Regions from separate parts of the Homo sapiens genome. Here all the other regions are linked to region 2. The links are contacts of gene promoters, found by promoter capture Hi-C in blood cells and fetal thymus (Javierre and others, 2016). All regions are on one chromosome and are shown on one strand. The core of a region is centred on a gene start or on the middle of the fragment in contact, and the rest is flanking DNA. Distances in the headings are between cores, read along the strand shown. Region 1 has its middle 25 kb from the start of RASL11A. Region 2 holds the start of CDX2 (caudal type homeobox 2). Region 3 has its middle 120 kb from the start of USP12-AS1.

Evidence for each region. Contacts are between HindIII fragments. The CHiCAGO score rates a contact against its expected background, and 5 or more counts as called.
Region 1: a contact is called between a fragment that was not itself captured here and the fragment with the promoter of CDX2 in region 2, in 1 of 17 cell types (M2 macrophages). The highest score is 5.0, in M2 macrophages.
Region 3: a contact is called between a fragment that was not itself captured here and the fragment with the promoter of CDX2 in region 2, in 5 of 17 cell types (non-activated CD4 T cells, naive CD4 T cells, total CD4 T cells and 2 more). The highest score is 8.4, in non-activated CD4 T cells.

Annotation. Positions count from the first base shown.
Region 1 is chr13:27,294,667-27,297,366 of GRCh38, forward strand. No RefSeq gene overlaps it. Among named protein-coding and RNA genes, the nearest start is that of RASL11A, 25 kb to the left of the region's middle. The HindIII fragment of the contact is 3,197 bases long and covers 1-2,700 here.
Region 2 is chr13:27,968,050-27,970,749 of GRCh38, forward strand. It overlaps CDX2 (caudal type homeobox 2), which reads right to left and starts at 1,266. Exons shown (of 3, transcript NM_001265.6): 1 at 417-1,266. The coding sequence starts at 957. RefSeq lists an enhancer at 501-1,192. The HindIII fragment of the contact is 4,126 bases long and covers 1-2,700 here.
Region 3 is chr13:26,999,522-27,002,295 of GRCh38, forward strand. No RefSeq gene overlaps it. Among named protein-coding and RNA genes, the nearest start is that of USP12-AS1, 120 kb to the right of the region's middle. The HindIII fragment of the contact is 2,857 bases long and covers 1-2,774 here.

The sequences.
Region 1 (2,700 bases), core at 157-2,656, 670 kb before region 2:
AAAATGAGGTCATTAAGGCAGACCCTTATCCAATACCACTAGTGTCCTTATAAGAAGAGGAGGTTTAGACACAGAGATATGCAGAGGGAAGATGGTGTGAAGACACAGGGAAAAGGGGGATATCTACAAGCCAAAGAGAGAGGCCTTGGGAGAAGAAACTCTGCCGGCATGTTCATCTTGGACTTCCAGCCCCCAGAGCTGTGAGAAAATAAATGTCTGTTGTTTAAGCCTCCCAGGCTATGGTACTTTGTAATGGCAGCCCCAGCCAGTTGATACTCCTTTGATGAGGTTTGTTGTGGAGAAATACATACATGGCTCATCCCCTCTCTAATGCTGGAAGGCATCGTGCACAAACCCATGCCTCCAGATCATAATCTGCACTCCAAGGAGGACCTGGGGCTGTTCTCTTTCCTTATGGAAGGGATGCAAATGTCCATCTCGAAGTGACTCTTTCCACTTTGAAACAAAGAGGAGCTGGAAGAATTTTGCCATTAAACTTTTAATAATAGTCATGTGTCTTCCTTAGGTATTTTTATATTTGCTTGTACCTTTGTTCAATAGAAAATGACAAATGCATGACTCTCCAGGCCCACCCACTCAACTCCCACGTTCCCAGCTGATTCAGTGTTCTCTGATCCACTGTCTCCGCTGGCTTGTCTCATCACTCCAACATAGGTGCTCACGTGCACACGCTTTGCCACTTCCAAGGGCATGGGAAGAGGTGAGGAATGAATTGCCAGTGTTGGGGTCTGGGCTCATCCACCCGCTGATGGCACGGCCATCCCTAGAGGCAAAAGGAGTCTCAGGCTGGTCATCACACTTGGCATTCTGGAGTGTTCAAACATTTTTCATGAATGCTAACTCATTTAGTCATCAAAGAACCCTGCGATTTAGGCAGAGTGAAGCTATTATTTTCATTTTCAGGAGGAAACTGGGGCTCAGAAAGATGAGGTGCCACGTGCAGGGTCTCATAGTAAGGATGAGGGAGCACAGAGATGAGAGCCTTCTTTCAGTCACCACTCCTACGCTCTCCCAAGCCTTGGGCAAACATTAAGAACTCTGTGCCCTTGGTTGTCCCGTCACCAGCATTAAACTGGCTTATCTGGTGACATAGTAAGATTTTGACAGCAACCACTTATGCAGTGCTGATGATGATCCAGGCACCTTTCTATGTAAATGCTGTACATGGATTCACATCTAACACCCTTATGACGTTAAGTCCTGTTATTGTCACCTGCACTTTACAGATGCAGAGACTGAGGTGTGGAGAAGTTATATCGCTGGCCCAAGATTACACAGCTGTCAAGAGGCAGACTCAACCTTCACACCCAGGCAGTCTGGCTGCAGGCTCTGCTCTCTTTGCTACTATGCCATAACTGCCCCTCACTGAGAGGCCTCTGTCTGTGGTCAGGATGGTCAAGACCACATGGAGGCCAGGAAGGTTGTTACCTGCCACAGGGACAGAACCATTGTGTCCTTCCAAAATTCATAATTCAAAACCTTCCCCACTAATGTGATGGTATTGGGAGGTGGGGCCTTTAGAGGTGATTAGAATTAGATGGGGTCCTGAGGGTGGGGCCCTCATAGCGGGATTGGTGTCCTTATAGGAAGGGACACCAGAGAGCTGGCTTCCTCTCTTTGCCCCGTGAGGACACGGTGAGGAGGTATAATCCAGGAAACAGGAGGAAGACCCTCCCCAGACATCGAATCTGCCAGAGCCTTGAGCTTGGATGTCCCAGTAACCAGAATGGCAAGAAACTACTGTTATGTAAGCCGCCTGGTCTGTTGTGTTTTGTTATAGCAGCCGGGCTGACTAAGACGACTGCCATCCCCCCCCACCAAGTGAGCACTCTGTGCCCCAAATCAAGCCCTGGAATGCCCCGAAGTCTGAGCTCCCTGGAGCCCGAGCTCCTATCCCTCCAGCTAGCATCAGCGGTTCCTGGTGTCCCTCCATCTGGTTTGGCTTCACATTCCCAGCAAAGCGGTCCAAACTAGGTCAGTAACAGCAGGAGCGGGTGGCCTGTGCTTCCTGCATCCTCCTGCTCCCTGAGCAATCTGGTCCAGTGGCTGAGAACAGTATCTCCTCAGGCTGCCGCAAAGCCCTGCTGAGGAGGACAGTGATTCAGGCTGAGTGTGTCTTAATGGTTCTGTCTGCTCCTTCTTTGCATGTATCAGAGCCTGCTGCTCCGAAGAGGTTTTCAAGCTCACGGAAACAATGGGGCTGGCAGTTTTCAGTACAGAACTTGTGCTCACCAGAGGGGAAAGGGCTCTTAGGGCAGTGAGAACCCAGGGTATGCCAGGGGAGCTTCCAACAGCAGAGAGAAAGACCTTGGATATTTGTAGCCTCAGCTCCTCACCGGCTGTATGACCCTGGAGAGTATAGTCATCACAGTAGCACTTATGGGCCACTTGTTATGAATCAGGCCCTTTGCTAAGCATTTTACATATATGGTCTCATTCAATCCTCACAACGACCTGGGGAGAGCGCCTCATTTTATGGATAAGGATATTGAGGTCCAGGGACAAGGAGGCTGAGTTATTTGCTCAAGGTCATACATTTAGTAAACAGCTAGGATTTGATCAAGATTGTTCCTTGTTCTCTCTCTCCTTTCCTCCCTCCCATCCTCCCTATCTCTCTCTCCTTTCTTTCCTCTTTCTCTTCCTTCCACTCAACAAATATTTGTAGCATCTGTCTGACGC
Region 2 (2,700 bases), core at 16-2,515:
CCTAGCCCAAGAAGGTTCGAGCCTCCCTCTCTCCTCGGCGGCCAGGAGCCACGCAAGGAATGCATGCCGCAGCAAGTGCCGGAGGACGCGATTCTGCCGGCGTCCAGCAGTGCTCACGCCGACATTCCCCGGAGCTTCCCGAAGGTGTCCCGGGGTTGCGAATGAGGAGCTCTTGGAAAGAGGACGCCTGAACACGGTGTTGAGACTCAGAATATTCACTCCCAGGCTCAGTAGGTCAGAGAAGCCCCGACGGGCCAGAGGCCCCCGAATTTGTCTCCGGGCCGTGCCCCTCCTGGCGCCGAGCTCCCAGACAGCCCGGGACGCCCCTGTGCGCACTGGACGCGCGACGCGCAGCAGCCACTGGCTCGACCCGCGCCTTCCCAAGCACCCTCCGAAGGGGCGCAGCCTCTGCTTACCTTGGCTGCCGAGGGACTGCTGCGCCGGCTTCCGCATCCACTCGCACAGGTTCCGCCGCTGGCCGCCGGGAGACAGCTGCTCGGCGGCAGCGGTGGCGGCGGGCCCAGGAGGGCCGGGGTTGAGCGTTTGCAGCAGCCCAGAAGCGCAGGAAGGCGCGGCGGCCGGGTGGTGCGGGTGGTGATGCGGGTGGTGGTGCGGATGGTAGTCTGCGGGGCTGCTGTAGCCCATGGCTGCGGCCGGGGAGCCACCGTTGAGGCCGTGAGCCACGGCGTTGGCGGCGGCCGCGGCGCCTCCGGGCGCGTAGCCATTCCAGTCCTCCCGGAGTGGGGCGCCATACGCTGCCGGCCAGGATGGCCCCGGGGACTGCGCGCTGTCCAAGTTCGCTGCCGCTGCAGCTGCGGCCGCCACGTGGTAACCGCCGTAGTCCGGGTACTGCGGGGGGCTGACGAAGTTCTGCGGCGCCAGGTTGAGGCCGCCAGAGTGGCGCACGGAGCTAGGGTACATGCTCACGTCCTTGTCCAGGAGGTAGCTCACGTACATGGTGGCGAGGGTCCGGGAGCAGACCTCACCATGCTGCCTGGGGACCGACGCTGGAGGCTGCCGGGGGGCACGAAGGGAAAGGGGCGAGGGGACTCGAGGAGCGGCGGGTGGCTGCGCCCCAGCCCGCGGTGCTCCGCTGGCTCCTCGCGGCTCTTCTGCCTCCGAGGCGGTCCCTCCCTCTGGCCTGCCTCCTCCCTCCCTCCCTTTCTTCCTTCTTTCCTCCCACCTCCTTCCCACTAGGCTGCAGAGGCGGGGAAGACCCGCCACAGGCTGGCGTGCGGAGCCCCAGGCCGGCGGCCTTCCGTGATTAACGAGTGTTTACAAGACTCTATTAGTAATGACACAGACACCAATGGTTGGAGACGTCGAGGCGCAGCGCGCACTCTACGCACAACCCCTCGAAACATAATTTGCATTTTAAAAGATAAAGGGGAGGGAGGCTCGTGAGAGGGCAGCGACCTGACACAGCTAAATATTCAAACCTTTATTGTTAAGAGCTTCCTCCTTCCAACCTGGTGCACTTTAACCTCCAATCACAGGTTCAAAGAATGAAATCAAGAGACTTACAAAAGAGAGGGGAAGAGAAAAGGCTATCTTGGTAGGAATCTGAGCTTGGAGACAGGAGCAGTGGTTGTTTATGCATTTGCAGGGAAGAGGGCGGTCAAGAAACTCCTTCTGTCCCAAAGAGAAAAGAAAAGAGAACCATTGCTTTGATGAGAACGTTTCTGACCAACCTGGTAGGTGACAAGCAGAGAGCCCTAAGAGATGGGCCATTCCTTCCCGCCCTGTGCTCCTGGCCCGGACGACTGCAGCCCCAAACAACTGTCACCTCCAGTTATTTTCTTGCCCAAGGAAATTACTCGCCCTCCGCACAAGACAAATTATGATCCTAGATTCAGGCTGCATCTCTGACTTCATCTTACATTTGAAATTTGAGTTAAATTCAAGCGATTTATTGTTAAACGTTTACATTCAAGAATCAGAAGTTTTAAACTACAGAAGTAATGGGCATGTGGTAGAAGTTAGGCTAGTGGTTATTGGCGTGCATAACTGGAGGCGAGCTAGGGGATCGTTGGTAAAGCAGTTTCTTAGGCTGCTGGTTACACAGAATGTCAGTTTGTGAAAATTCATTGAGCTACACTTGTATGTTTATTATACTTAAATATAAGGAAAAGAGAATTTCTGCTAATGCTTACCTAGGTATTTATGTGTCTTACATCATACCTGTATCTTTAAAACTCTCTGTCCTTTACAAAGGGAAACGTTCTCCGAAGAAATTTATTTCTCATTTCCAGGAGATGATAAGGCAACTCAGGGCCATTATTAACGACTGCTAATGAAAAGCTCTGAGTTGAGAAAGGATCTCTCTTGGTTTGGGAAGCGCTGCGGCCAAGGGGCCTAGGGCTGGAAGTGGCCGTCTTGGGGACCGAAGCCGCGCAGCCCGGGATCGGGAGCTGCCCCGACAGGAGCGCGGAGGCGGCGAGATTCGGCCCCCGCGCGCGCCCAGCTCGGTTTCAGCAACCGCGTGGAGTGGGCCTGCGGCCGCCGTTCACCTCCTAATACAAGCCTTTGACAGCGCTGCCAGATTCGGGAATGAGGATCACTGCGGCGAGGCCCGGCGGGCTGGGCAGCCTGACTCGGCGGCTTTGAGCGCTCTCAGAACCCGCGGGCGCTCGCGGCACTCCTGGAGACCTGCACTTGTCTGTTCTCATTGTCAAGCGTTTCGCTCGGATATTTGTCACC
Region 3 (2,774 bases), core at 169-2,668, 970 kb before region 2:
AATTCTGCAAAACATGGCGGGACTTTAACTCTAGTAAGCGCAGGACAGCTCTGGCTCTGTTCTTTTACTACTTACATGGCAGCTTCCACCCAACCAGGATGCCACACATGGCCCATCCAATCACCCCAGCACACGTGGCGGTGAACTTGGTCTTCCTGACAAAGAGAGGCAGCCAGCTCACAGAGCAGCAGAGTGTGACCCAGTCGGGGACCCAGGGCATGCTCATTCTGCCCTTGGGAAGATGGCCAGGCCCCTTCCTGTATCTCAGCTGCTTCTCTCAGACCCTAGGTTGATGATTCCGCATCTGAGTTGCTGCTTGGGTAAAAAGAGTAGGATTGTGGGGGCATACGGACCACACCATCAGATATGGGCAACAAATATCTTAAAATGAAAAAGCAGTTTGTGACCTCATGGAGTGTGGATTCATTTCTGCATAATGCTTGTGTGTGTGTGTATTATACTCTAGTATATCTGTATATTTAGAATAAATATACAGATCTGTATATTTAGAATAAATTCTGGAGGAATATTACCAAAATGTAATTAATGGTTATGGCTTTGAGGCACAATTTTAGGATGCTTTAAGTTTTTGTTTTACTTTGATATTTAATTTTTTAATGAGCATGCATTAGTTCTGAAGAAAAAATGTTTTTAAAAAATTTTAAAGAGCAAGTATGCAAAATAAGAAGTTCAAACACATCATTTTTACATATGATCAGACGTGGTTTTATTAATGGCAAAGCGAGTTACTAAAAATAAGATTTGCCCAAAGAAGCAGAAATGAGGCCCTGTGTGTTTCCTGCCATCCCATCTTTTACTCCAAAATGAATAAAGGATAGTTCATAGGATCCCAATGTTTAAGGATGCTAATTTTTCTTTAGCTTTGACCTGAAGTTATTTATTTAATGAATGAGAAGAACTAATACATTTAATGTGGAAAATCTGATCACAATTTATACATGATTTTTTGTTTTTGTGAGTTCAACACTGGACTCTCATTTTTCTGTTCTTTTTTCATGTAATATTCCATAAACGGTTGTATTCTACCATGTCATTCAATGTCAGATCATAAGCATTTTCCCACATTGTCACAAAGTCTTCAGAGACATTTTAACAGCTGTGTAATAAACAACTGTGTCTTGGGTGATTTGGCCACTTGCTTATCATTGGCCTTTTAGGTCTTTCATCAGCTATTAGAAATAATCATTTATTCCTCAACTCATTCATCCACAAATCCAACGAATACCTCTTCAGCACTTGCTCTGCCCGAGGCCCTGTGCTAAGCACTGGGGGATCATCCAACACAGTCTCCCTAGCTGAGGACAAATGTTAACCAACCAGCAGCTGCACCGTCGCACACCGAATTGACTGCTTTGACGAAGAAGCAGAGTTTGAGGAGAAGTTAGACCTTGAGAACCTGGCTGTTAGAGGATAAACTGTGTGCATCCTCCCAAACTCATAGGGTGAAGTCCTAACCCCCAGCACCTGACAGTGGAATTGGACTTGTAAGTAGGGTCATGGCAGATTGACTCAGTTAAATGAGGTCATCAGGGCAGGCCCTAATCCAATAAGACTGGTGTCCTTATAAAAGGGGGAAATTTGGACACACACAGAAAGAAAGCCGTGTGGACGTGAAGTTGGCCTTCTAAAAGCCCAGGAGAGTAGCTGGGAATAGATCCTTCCCTCAGAGCCTCAGAAGGAACCACCACTGCTGACACCTTGACCTTGGACTTTCAGCCTCTGGAACTGGGAGAAAACTCGTACCTGTTGTTGGTGCCACCCGGTCTGTGGGGCTTGGTTTTGGCAATCGTAGAATGAGGCTTCTCTGGGGAAGTGACATTAGGCTGTGATCTGGATGATGAGGGGGAGTCACTAGAAGAGAAAAGGGAGTGATGTGTGCCCAAAGGAGGCAAGGGTCTAAGTCATCGAGGGACAGTAGGCACATGAAGGATGTTGGGTATCATTCTATGGTCAATGAGCTGGAAAGTGACTTGATCAGCGTGGCCTTTTGTATTCAGAGTTCAACAAAACATGAAAGAAGTCACTCTTGCTTTTTTGAGAAGAAAAGCACCTAATACAGAGAATTATCTGCTCACAAGTCATTAGATGGGCTGGAGGAGCAGGTCATGGCCTGGGTCTTGAGGAGGAATTCGCAGAGTGTCACTGCAGAGCTCACTCACCAGGGGAGCCGTTACCTCTACTTCAGTGAGGAAGCTGGGGAATCAGAAGATGAGCTGCACCTGCTGGCCTCAGAACACAACGTACAGGCAGCAGTCCAGTGTCCACAGGCCACAGCTGCAACTACAACTGCAGAGCTACACTGCACCTGCTAAACACATACCTGCTGGAGCTACGTCTGCCAGACCCACACCTGCTGAAGCCACACCTCCTAGACCCACGTCTACTGGAGCCAAACTCGTTAGACCAACACCTGCTGGAGCCACGACCCCTAGACCCACACCTGCTGGACCCAGCTGCAGAAGTGAACACCTGCCCCCTGCCACCACTCTCCCTGCCTCACTCTGCACTAGCTCAGGTCACCTACATTTGACTTAAGCAGAGCCTAAGTTGGAATCTACATTTCATGGAGTCTAGGAAATACAGTCCTCACCTTTCCAGCTTCTGCAGGAGAGAAAGGCACACTGGGAGGAGGTTGGAAAAGATGTTGAATACACCAAAGTACTGCATCCTCTTCAAAAGATCACTTTGGTTTTTCTATGGAAACTGTGTCAGAGGAAGCAAAGGTGGAGGAGGGAGTCTGGGTAGAAGACAGC